Regions from separate parts of the Homo sapiens genome. Here all the other regions are linked to region 1. The links are contacts of gene promoters, found by promoter capture Hi-C in human tissues and cell types (Jung and others, 2019). All regions are on one chromosome and are shown on one strand. Each heading gives the region's core, a stretch centred on a gene start or on the middle of the fragment in contact. The rest is flanking DNA. Distances are from core to core; before and after follow the strand shown.

Region 1 (2,700 bases), core at 132-2,631:
TTGTACCTTAATACAAGACGAGCGTGTAGTCCCCTGAACTACACGCTCGCCGAAGCCAAACAGACCTTGTTTGGGTCATTGTACCTTAATACATAACACACAATTGGCGTTCGATCAAACAGCGGACAACCACCTCTCAATGTCCATCTACCTGGCAAACTCCTAGTTATTCATTTAAACAATCTAGAGACGGGGTTGGGTACTGAACGTGACAGATGTGATACCTGCCCTGAGCAGCCGCACCACCTGGTGACTATCCATTATTCAAAGGCCAGCTCTGCTTCCTAACTTTAAACTTCTTTAGAGCAGGACTGGAATCCTGTTGCCTAAATGAACGAACATTGATAAACACTTGCCAATAACTAAAACTCAGAGGGATAATTCTTTTTGATTTCTGCTGCAGGCATCTGAAATGCACAAAACCTTGCTGGACCCACAGGGAGACGGCAAAGGGGGCTGGACAGTGCCTGTCCCATGGACTCCCATCCGGCCTCTATCACTTCCTCCCTAGAAAACACTAAAACAATCACGCTACTCCTGCTAATCTCCGTCATCAGTCTGCAAAACAACAGCAAAATCCCTGATCCAGAGCCCAGGGGGGAGGATCGAAAACCTCGTTGTTCTCCATTACAGTGGCACCCAGCAGCCGCTCTGTGCAGGGCCGTGGGAACAGCGGAACAGGGATCGTGTGGACCGAGCTGCTCCACTTCAAAGAATAAACGACCCGAAAGAAAGAGGTTTGTGGCAGAGCCCGGACTGGAATCCGAGAAAGGAAGCGCTCGATGGGACGGCCTGAGTGCCGGAGGGGACTCACGCTGCTGCTGCTCCAGCGCCAGCTTGCACTTGTAGTAACTGTAGAATTCGCCTCCGAAAAGAAACGAGAATTTGGGGTTGTCCTTCTGCTTCTCCATAGTCATCTTCTCAAACTCGGGCCCATTGCGAGCCACGAACTGGGCGAGCTTGTCGATGACATTTCGAAGCTCCTGGTCTGGAGGACGGAGAAAAGGCCACGCGGGGCGTCAGCGAGGACCGCCCAAAGCCGGGGGACTCGGCGCCCCAGCCCCCGTCCGCCTTGCCGGGGACCCCAAGGGGGTGGGCCCCGAAGAGGCCGCCCTTGTACGGGTCCCGATAGGGGCCACACGCTCGCCGGGAATGCGGGGACCCACGGGAGAGGCCGCAGGCGAAGCCGCGAGGCCGAGCCCCGCCCCCTCCCAGACCCGGGGACTCCGGGAGGCGGGGCCGGCCAATAGGAGGTTCCGGGGAGAGAGAAACGGTCTCTCGGCCGGTTTGGGTCTCACCATCGGGGGGCAGCGGCATCTCCATGGCTCCGGCCGCGGGGAACGTCCTCCGGCGCCACACGATCGACCACCAGCGCCGTCTGCGGAAGCCGGCCGGAAGTGGCGCGAGGGAGCCGTTTACGGCGGGCTTCTAGGGCCGCTTCCGCCCGCCACTTACGGCCGTCGCTGGGAAACTCCGGAAGTGAGAGCGGGAGGCAGGCGGGAAGAAGCCGCGCGATGCCTGGCGCGCGGGAGGGGCTAGCGACGCGCACGCGCAGAAGTTTCCTGACACTTTCGCAGAGTGGGTCCCCGTCGCGCGGCGCCGCGGAAAGGCTGGAACGGCGCGGGTGGGTGTTAGTCGAGACCGGGGGGCGCGGGGCGTGCCCCTTGGTCGGCGTCGCAGCCCGATGGGCTGGCTGGTTGCTACCTCCGGGCGACCAGGGGCCTGGGGACTTCGTGCCTGGGCCAGGGTCTCTTTCCTTTCGCGGGCACAGTGAGGAGACTGCGAGGTGAGGTGCGTCCGGGTGGATCCCGGGCTGCGGCGACTGTCACATTCTCCCCGGCCAGACCGGAGGTGGAGCAGAACTGGGGGCGACGAGCTTGACTGGGATTGCAGCTGGACGTATTTAGGTTCAAAACATCCTCCTCCTGGCTTTCTTCCGCTCCACTCTTTGGTCAGGAAGACTGGGGCGGGGTACCCCCCAACCCATGCCCTCAAATTGCTGGCCTAGAGGGCACAGCGCCTTTCTAAAAGCTGCAGTTGGGTTGCCTCTAAAATAATGAAGCTAACCCTTGCTAATTGTGGGGAAAAGATAGCCAGAAGCAGCAAATTTCTGCTGTGGACGTCCGATATAAACTGATCCTCTTGAGATGGTTAATGCTTAGTTGGCTATACCTGCCCCCCGCCCCCGCCGCTTTTTTTTCCTTTATCCGTTTTTTTTTTTCTTTTTTCTTGAGACAAGGTCTTGCTCTGTGGCCCACGCTGGAGTGCAGTGTCATGATCATAGCTCACTAGCCCTGAACTCCTGTGCTCAAGTAATCCTCCCGCCTCGGCCTCCCAAAGTGCTAGGATTATAGGCATGAGCTACTTTACCCAGCCTGTTTTTTTCTGTGCAAATAAATGCACATGTATTTTAGATTAGTTTCATTTTTATTGTTAACAGCATTTTTCCACCAGATGCTTATGGATTGACAACTCTACATCAAGTGTTGCTGTAGGCTAGGAATCAACAAAACTTTTTGTATAAAAGGGACAGAAAGCAAATATTTTAGACTCTGCAGGTCAGGAGGCAAGATCAAGGATTTTTTTTTTTCTAAATGTCCTCTAGTTCATATTTTCTCATGAAGATCGAGGATCTTAATTGTTTGGTTTTTTTTTTTTTTTGAGACACAGTCTTGCTCTCTCTCGCCCAAGCTGGAGTGC
Region 2 (2,700 bases), core at 125-2,624, 420 kb before region 1:
GGATTTGGGGTTGCAGTGACTTTCTTGCCCCATCTGTGTCGTTTTTGTCCCACACTCTTGCACCCACATCTGTCTCACCATTACCACATGGCCCGTGTCCTTATTCTGCAAACTTGGATGGCCCCAGACAACTTGGCCAGCAGCAGAAGTCATCAGTGCCCTCAGGTGCCACAGATGCAGGGCTGGGCCTGGGGAGCAGGTAGCGAGGAGGAAGGAAGAAATCCAGGCCTGGCCATGAGCAGGCCACGTGCCTTGGAGCCCAGGATGCCCGGCAACAAAGGGGGACTTGTGATGGCACTGCAGGCTGGCCCGCTGTGGGCACTCCACAAGGACATCGAGAACCACACAGACCGTCAGAGGGTGGCCCCCACATGTGGGTTCTGGGGCTGAAAAAGGCCCAGGGATATTGCTGAGAGGATAGGTGTCATCAGTGCTTTTGGAGTTAGCCCCCCCCCGCCCCCCGTGCTTGAATCTTAAAGGTCACGTCTCTGTGCCTCAGTTTCCCCTTGCATCGCATGGGCATGTTTGCGCTTGTCCACAGCAGTAGCGAGGCTGTGGACCCAGGCTGAGGCGGGGCTGCCCCGAAGCTCTTCCAGGACCCACGAGCCGTCTCCCAGTTGCTCACGTCTAGGTTAGGGAACTGGAAGGGCCTTGGCACTCTCGGCTCCATCTTCACACAGCCGGTTCCCTCTGTGGTGGGGTCACTGGAAGTTGTGTGGATGTCGGGTCAGGACTTCCTGGGCTCAGTTGTGCCTGGTAGGTGGCTCAGGCAGAGCGTGGGGTGAGCAAGGGGTGAAGAGGAGGCCGATTGCAGGGGAGGGTCAGCGTGAGGGGAGTGCTGCTGGCAGTGGGCCTGTGGACCGGCTCCCACCGTCAGGCTGCACCACCCCGTGGGCCATGAGGGGAGCCAGCCGGGCTTGTCAGCGAGTGCGTGGCAGGGGCTGGCCTGTGAGGCAGAAGGGTCACCTCAGCGGCCCGGGGGGCAGGACAAGGCTGGTGCCAGAACCCAGCAGAAAGAAGGGCCACAGGGATGGAGAGGAGGGGGCTGGCTTCCGGGGCTCCACAGAGGTGGGGAGGGCGGCAGCTAATGGGCCTGGCTGTGCAGTGGGTGCTGGGCTCCCCACCACTGTTCTCTGGTGCCGCTGAGGCCTCCCTTCCAGAGCCTGCAGCCGATCAGGCACCTGTGTCTTCTCTCCCCGCGCAGGGCATCATGCTGGTCTACGACATCACCAACGAGAAGTCCTTCGACAACATCCGGAACTGGATTCGCAACATTGAGGAGGTGAGGCCCTCCGGCTCCTCCCACTGTCCCTGCTTCAGTCCTTGTCCCAGAGCCCTCTGGTTTACTCATGAGAAGGCCAAGGTGCAGAGACACATACAGGCCACTTGCCCACAGCCTCCTAGTCAGGGACATGGTGGGAGCAGGGACTGAGATGCAAGCAGCCGGCCCCAGGGACCACACACTGGCCTGGCCCCACCCCGGAGCCCCTCGGAGCCCATCCCTCCAGCTAGGCTGTTGGATCTGGCCAGTGTCATGGTTATAAGAGAAAGGATATCCAAGCTTGTGGTCACCATGAGTGTTGGGTGCTTTCTAGAGAAGGAAGGGTCTAGCACAGGTGTGACCCTTGTAGTTGGAGGGTGTGGTGAGCAGGCGTCAGTTGTACTTTGAGCTATATCGGAGCAGGGTGTGACCTGGTACAAACGACCTGTGTTCAGACCTTGAACCATAGAGCAGTGAGAAGTAGGCCAACCCCTCCTCCCCTCCCAAAGCCAGCATCTTCATCTTCTGCTCCCCAAAGAGCTGACCTCACCCCCAAAGCCTTCCTGGCTGCCGGCACCTGCAGCTTTCTATAACTAACCATGTGGGGCTTCAGGTCTGAGGCACAGCCAGAGAACTTTTCCCATCTATAAAACCACAGCAAAAGGGCATATCACTGTCCACCCAGGACTCATGGACCTCCCAGGCCAGGCCGAGAGGCCACCCCATCATTTGTGAGTCATTGCACTGGGCTCACCTCCCCAGTGACCCTGAGAGGGCTGTGCTGCCAAATTTGCCAGTGCAGGGCTGCACCCCAGCTGGGAAAGCTGTCTTCATCCGTGGAGAGGAGGAGAGCCTGGTCTTTGTGAAAGGTCTCTGTTTCTGGCCAGCGGGCAGGAGCCACCTTCTGGTTCATGGGAAGTGAGGCAGGGAGTGGCGCAGTAGGTTCCAGAGACCAAGTCTGAGCTGGTGGAAGAAGACAGCAGTTTCCAGTGTCCCCGTCCTCCAGGAAGCGTGGTCCGCTCCATGGGGACCCAGGGAGACTTGACGAAGGAGCTGCCTTTGGGTATGAGGGCAGAGTTTGGGCAACATCAGACAGGGTGGTGAAGTGCCTGCAGCTGGTGACGGCCTCGAGTTGCGACCACCTCAGGCACGGCCTGTTTCTGGAGCCCAAAAATAGTTGAAATGTCAGGGCCAGGCGAGGTGGCTTATGCCTGTAATCCCAGCAGTTTGGGAGGCTGAGGCGGGCAGATCACCTGAGGTCAGAAGTTTGAGACCAGCCTAGCCAACATGGCGAAACTCTGTCTCTACTAAAAATACAAAAAATTAGCCTGGTATGGTGGCAGATGCCTGTAATCTCAGCTATTCGGGAGGTTGAGGATCGCTTGAACCTGAAGGCAGAGGTTGCAGTGAGCCGAGATCATGCCACTACACTCCAGCCT
Region 3 (2,700 bases), core at 21-2,520, 450 kb before region 1:
CCACTTGGCTAGGAAACTATCTCCCACGATGCCAGAAAGTGCTGCGGACGCTTGTCTAACGTAATGGGAAAACCGAATGATCAGCTCACTTGTGTCGTTAGCTGGGAGTTTTGGCACAGTTGGGCAAAAATGGAGGATTGTGGTCCCAAGCCATGGAGTTTCAGACCATGCAAGCTCAGGCCCTCCTTTGCCTCCCTCGATGGCTCGGCTCTTCCCTCCCGCCTCTTGTCTGCCTCGCTCCTCAGGCTTGAGGAAGAGAATCAGGATTTCCTCCAGGCCCCAGGATGGCTCTTTCAGTTGAAGCGCCAGCAAAAGGCCAGGCGCGGTGGCTCGTACCTGTAACCCCAGCACTTCGACCGAGGCGGGAGGATCACCTGAGGCCAGGAGTTTGAGACCAGCCTGGGCAACATAGTGAGACCCCATTTCTAAAAATAATAATAATAATAATTAGCTGGGTGTGGTGGCATGCACCTGTAGTCCCAGCTACTTGGGAGGCTGAGGCAGGAGGATCGCTTGAACCTGGGAAGTCAAGGCTGCAGTGAGCTCTGACCACGCCACTGCACTCCAGCCTTGGAGACAGAGCAAGACCCTCTGTCAAAAACATAAAAGGGCTGGGCATGGTGGCTCACGCCGGTAATCCCAGCACTTTGGGAGGCCAAGGCAGGCAGATCACCTGAGGTCAGGAGTTCATGACCAGCCTGGCCAACGTGGTGAAACCCTGTCTCTACAAAAAATACAAAAATTAGCCGGGCATGGTCGTGCATGCCTGTAAGCCCAGCTATTTGGAAGGCTGAGACAGGAGATTCACTTGAACCCAGGAGGCAGAGGTTGCAGTGAGTCAAGGTTGAGCCACTGCATTTCAGCCTGGGTGATGGAGCGAGACTCTGTCTCAAAAGAATAAAAAAATAAAAAAGAGGCCAGGTGTGGTGGCTCATGCCTATAATCCCAGCACTCTGGGAGGCCGAGGTAGGTGGATCAGGAGGTCAGGAATTCGAGACCAGCCTGGCCACTACGGTGAAACCCCATCTCGACTGAAAATACAAAAATTAGCTGGGCGTGGTGGCACGCGCCTGTAGTCCCAGCTACTTGGAAGGCTGAGGCAGGAGAATCGCTTGAACCCAGGAGGTGGAGGTTGCAGTGAGCCGAGACTGTGCCACTGCACTCCAGCCTGGGCAACAGAGGGAGACTCCGTCCCCCTGCAAAAAAAAGAAACACCAGAAAAACCCATGTTGCAGCTGGTCTAGGGGTCTGGGTGGGGCATCATTGGGGGCTGTCTGCAGTGGATGGGAGAGGACACGGCTGGTGGGGATCGGGCTCAGCTGGGCCTTTCTGTCTCTGCAGGTAGCTCGTAAGCTGGTCATCCTGGAGGGTGAGCTGGAGAGGGCAGAGGAGCGTGCGGAGGTGTCTGAACTGTGAGTGGCAGAACAGGACTGAGCGAGGCTGGCTCGATTCCTGGGGCGGAGTGGGAAGGAGCTGGCTGTGTTGGGAATTGGCTCTGACCGGGGTCTCTGCTCAAGTGGACGGGCGTCAGGGGCTCATGGCTCATCTTTTCTCTTGGCTTCTGTGACAAAGAGGTGGTGACTTGTTCTTACTGCCATGGGAAGCACTGCCCACGTGTTGACCCTTTCTGCAAAGATATGAGGAAATAGGAGTGAGACAGGAGGCAGCAGGGAAGCCCAGAAGTCCCATTTTCCCAGAGAGGATATCTCAGGGGGCTGTGCCATCTTAACAGAACACTGACCTGCTCCAGAAGGCAGGCTCCCCCGGTCAGTATGTAAATGCTTTTGCTCCTGTCAGTGTTTGGCCGTGACACATTCCTGGCGGGAAGGTGAGAAGCTTAACCAGAATCCCACAAGCAAGCACCGAAAAACAAAACACCTGTCCTCTTGGCCCCGGGTGAGGAATTCAGCCCCACAGAGCATCCGGGAGTGCTGAGAGAGATCTGGTTTCACAAATCCACTCCGGGCTTCCTTCCCGGAGTGTCCCCTGCAAACTCCCATTGCTCTCTGCCCGCCTTCTGCCCTCAGTCCCATTCTTACACCTTCCGGAGTCGGCCTCATCAATCATAGATTTCACAAGTCCTTGCAGCCTTACCCTTGGCAAAAGACCAGGAGTGTTTTCCAAGCCCTCCAAATACTCTTCGGGCGCACCTCGCCTCTGCCTGGTATGATAAGCCTTTGATAAGCCCATAGTATCACACTGCAGAAAAATCCATTAACATTTTCTCCCCACATTCCTTCTGCCCCCCACCGGGGGAGCTGTGTAGGTTTCTCCTTTGGAAAATTTATTGTTGGGGCGATTGCTATTATTGCCGGCTGTAAGGGAAGATAAGACACAAAAATCCTTTGTCTTTGTGCAGAAAATGTGGTGACCTGGAAGAAGAACTCAAGAATGTTACTAACAATCTGAAATCTCTGGAGGCTGCATCTGAAAAGGTAGGTGGTTGGCTTGAGCTGGAGGGTGGCTTGCTGGACTTTGTTCTTTTCTTCTCCCGAGGGATGCAGGAGCCTGTCAGGTTATGGGGAATCTGCCCTTTATTTAACAGTAGCGTTGGTGCCTGGCAGCCAGGGTTTTTCCCCTACAGAAAGAGCTGGATTTCTCCTGCACACTCTTGAGTCCTCTTCCATGGGGTCTGAGCACCATCTTTGATCTCCATCTCAGGAGGATAGAGATAGAACATGAGGCTCTTCTTAGCGAGAT
Region 4 (2,700 bases), core at 34-2,533, 480 kb before region 1:
CAGGTAGGAGGTTGAATAGGGGAGGCTGCTCAGGTTATAGTTTGTGGGTCAATGTGTAGAATCCGGAGTCAGCCACTCTTGGTTCAACTCCCAACACCACCACTTCTTAGCTGTGCTGGCTTGAGCAAGTTACTTCACCTCTCTGTGCCTCAATTTCTCCTTTTATAAAATGGAAATGACAGCAGCACTTATCTCACGAGGTTATTGTGAAAATTAAGTGAGCTGATGTGTGCAAGGCACGTAGAACAGCATGGACACATTAAAGACATGTCAGTGTTAACTATAATTATTATTAATTATCGTGACGATGCCACCAAGCTTGTGGTCATGCCTGTTTTACGGGATTAATGGCCAAGCTCTCTAACCCACACAGTTCCCTCGGAGTGTGGCTCAGAGACTTTGGGGAGGACTTAGAGCCCTTTTCTCCTTGCCCGCCCCACCAATGGTTTGCCCCTTCCCGGATAATTTTTTTTTTTTTTAAACAGGATCTTGCTCTGTAGCCCAGGCAGGAGTGCAGTGGTGCAATCTCAGCTCATTGCAACCTCTACCTCCCGGGTTCAAGCAATACTTGTCAGCTTCCCAAGTACCTGGGATTACAGGTGTGCATCACCTATGCCCGGCTAATTTTTTTGTATTTTTAGTAGGGACGGGATGTCACCATGTTGGCCAGGCTGGTCTCGAACTTCTAGCCTCAAGGGATCCAACCCCTTGGCCTCTCAAAGTACCAGGATTACAGGTGTGAGCCACTACACCTGGTCTAGAAACTCTTTTTTTATTAAGAGATAGAGTCTCACTCTGTTGCCCAGGCTGGAGTGCAGTGGTACCAGCATGGCTCACTGCAGACTCAAACTCCTGGGCTCAAGTGATCCTCCTGCCTCAGCCTCTGGAGTAGCTGGGACTACAGATGCATGCCACCACACCCAGCTAATTTTTAAATTTTTTGTAGAGATGGGGTATCGCTCTGTTGCTCAGGATGATCTTGAACTCCTGGGCTCAAGCAATTCTCCCACCTTTGCCTCCCAAAGTGCTGCGACTACAGGCGTGAGCCACTGCACCCAGCTTCAGGGTCATTTTTATTGTCATCCTTGTCATCTTATTACTCTATTGTACCCCATGAAATGAAACTCCATAGAGTGCAAGCTGAGAACATTTTTGCTCTTTTCTATTGGAACTCAGTAAACTCACCTGTTGCCTTGGTCTCTTTGCATGTCTCAAACTGCAGGAGACACATTTGGGGGCAGTCCCCATCCTCTCTTCTGTTGTTTGATCTCTGCAGCCTCACCACCCACCACACCACACCACACCACATCCTCACCTCTGCATTCAACGGCAGACACTCTCACCTGCCCTCAGTCCCTTCCTCCTATGACCTTCGCATAGACCCCATCACCACCGTTCAGGCCTCCCTCAATTGCCACTTCCTCAGGGAGGCTTTTTCCTGACTTCCACCCAAGACTAATCAGGTGCCTGCATTTTGCATGCATTAACATTTTTAGGCTGGGCGTGGTGACTCATGCCTGTAATCCCAGCACTCTGGGAGGCCGAGGTGGGCAGACCACCTGAGGTCAGGAGTTCGAGACCAGCCTGGCCAACATGGTGAAACCCTGTCTTTGCAAAAATACAAAAAGTAGCCAGGTGTGGTGGTGCATGCCTGTAATCCCAGCTACTTGGGAGGCTGAGGCACGAGAATTGCTTGAACCTGGGAGGCGGAGGTTGCAGTGAGCCGAGATCGTGCCACTGCACTCCAGCCTGGGAGTGCAGGACAGAGCAAGACTATCTCAAAAAAAAAAAAAAATTTAGCTCACACTCTGGGTGCCTGCCCAGATCCACTGGGTTCCTACTGTTTCTCTCCACACCAAGGGGTACTTCTAGCAGCTTCATCTCTCTGCTAGGGGGAGAGGCGGTCTTCCTCCAGCTGCTGAAGTGAGTGTGACCCATACAAGGGCAGATCAGCACAATCAACAGCCCCTAAGAGCAGCCTTCAATCAACAGCAGCATGGAATTGGTGGATAAATACCCCAGCTCCTTCGCCCCTCAGCTGGGACAACTCCAAAGAGCATGCTCTCTGCTGCCTCCAGAGGCCCTCAGTGGGACTGCACCCTATTTGTCCATGGCAGTAACTGGTTTCATAATGCATGCTTAATGGTTACTTTCTTTTCCCTATTTCACTTCCCATCCTCTACTTGTATCTCCTTGGGTCACTTCCCAAATAAACTATTTGTCCTTGCATTTTTTAAGAGATGGGGTATCTGATGCCCAGGCTGAAGTGCAGTGGTGCAATAATAGCTCACGGCAGGCCAGGCACAGGGGCTCATGCCTGTAATCCCAATAGTTTGGGAGGCCAAGGCAGGAAGATCACTTGAACCCAGGAGTTCAAGACCAGCCTGGGCAACATAGCAAGACGCCACCTCTACAAAAACAAAAAAGTATCCAGGCATAGTGGCACATGCCCGTAGTCCTAGCTACTCAGCGGGCTGAGGTGGGAGGATCAATTGAAGCTGGGGGATCTAGGCTGTAGTGAGCCACGATTGTGCCACTGCACTCCAGCCTGGGCAACAGAGTGAGACCTTGTCTCGAGAAAGAAAGAAAAGAAGGAAAGAAGGAAAGAAAGGAAAGAAGGAAAGAAGGAAAGAAGGAAAGAAAGAAAGAAAGAAGGAAGGAAGGAAGGAAGGAAGGAAGGAAGGAAAGAAAGAAAGAAAG

Evidence for each region. The method cuts DNA at HindIII sites, captures the fragments that hold promoters and counts their contacts. A contact is called where the count stands out against the background at its distance.
Region 2: a contact is called between a fragment that was not itself captured here and the fragment with the promoter of CHERP in region 1, in 1 of the 25 tissues and cell types used here (spleen).
Region 3: a fragment that was not itself captured here is called in contact with the fragment with the promoter of CHERP in region 1 in 1 of the 25 tissues and cell types used here (dorsolateral prefrontal cortex).
Region 4: a fragment that was not itself captured here is called in contact with the fragment with the promoter of CHERP in region 1 in 1 of the 25 tissues and cell types used here (pancreas).

What each region holds. Positions count from the first base shown.
Region 1 is chr19:16,541,056-16,543,755 of GRCh38, forward strand. CHERP (calcium homeostasis endoplasmic reticulum protein) reads right to left here and starts at 1,382. Exons shown (of 17, transcript NM_006387.6): 1 at 1,299-1,382; 2 at 815-988. The coding sequence starts at 1,323. RefSeq lists silencers at 1,014-1,083, 1,094-1,283. The HindIII fragment of the contact is 9,580 bases long and covers 1-2,700 here.
Region 2 is chr19:16,124,266-16,126,965 of GRCh38, forward strand. RAB8A (RAB8A, member RAS oncogene family) reads left to right here. Exons shown (of 8, transcript NM_005370.5): 4 at 1,205-1,282. HSH2D-AS1 (HSH2D and RAB8A antisense RNA 1) reads right to left here. Exons shown (of 2, transcript NR_199156.1): 2 at 1-2,700. Among named protein-coding and RNA genes, the nearest start is that of RAB8A, 14 kb to the left of the region's middle. The HindIII fragment of the contact is 7,709 bases long and covers 1-2,700 here.
Region 3 is chr19:16,086,686-16,089,385 of GRCh38, forward strand. It overlaps TPM4 (tropomyosin 4), which reads left to right. Exons shown (of 8, transcript NM_003290.3): 4 at 1,342-1,412; 5 at 2,360-2,435. Among named protein-coding and RNA genes, the nearest start is that of TPM4, 12 kb to the left of the region's middle. The HindIII fragment of the contact is 7,259 bases long and covers 1-2,700 here.
Region 4 is chr19:16,060,829-16,063,528 of GRCh38, forward strand. No RefSeq gene overlaps it. Among named protein-coding and RNA genes, the nearest start is that of LINC01855, 3.5 kb to the right of the region's middle. The HindIII fragment of the contact is 9,039 bases long and covers 1-2,700 here.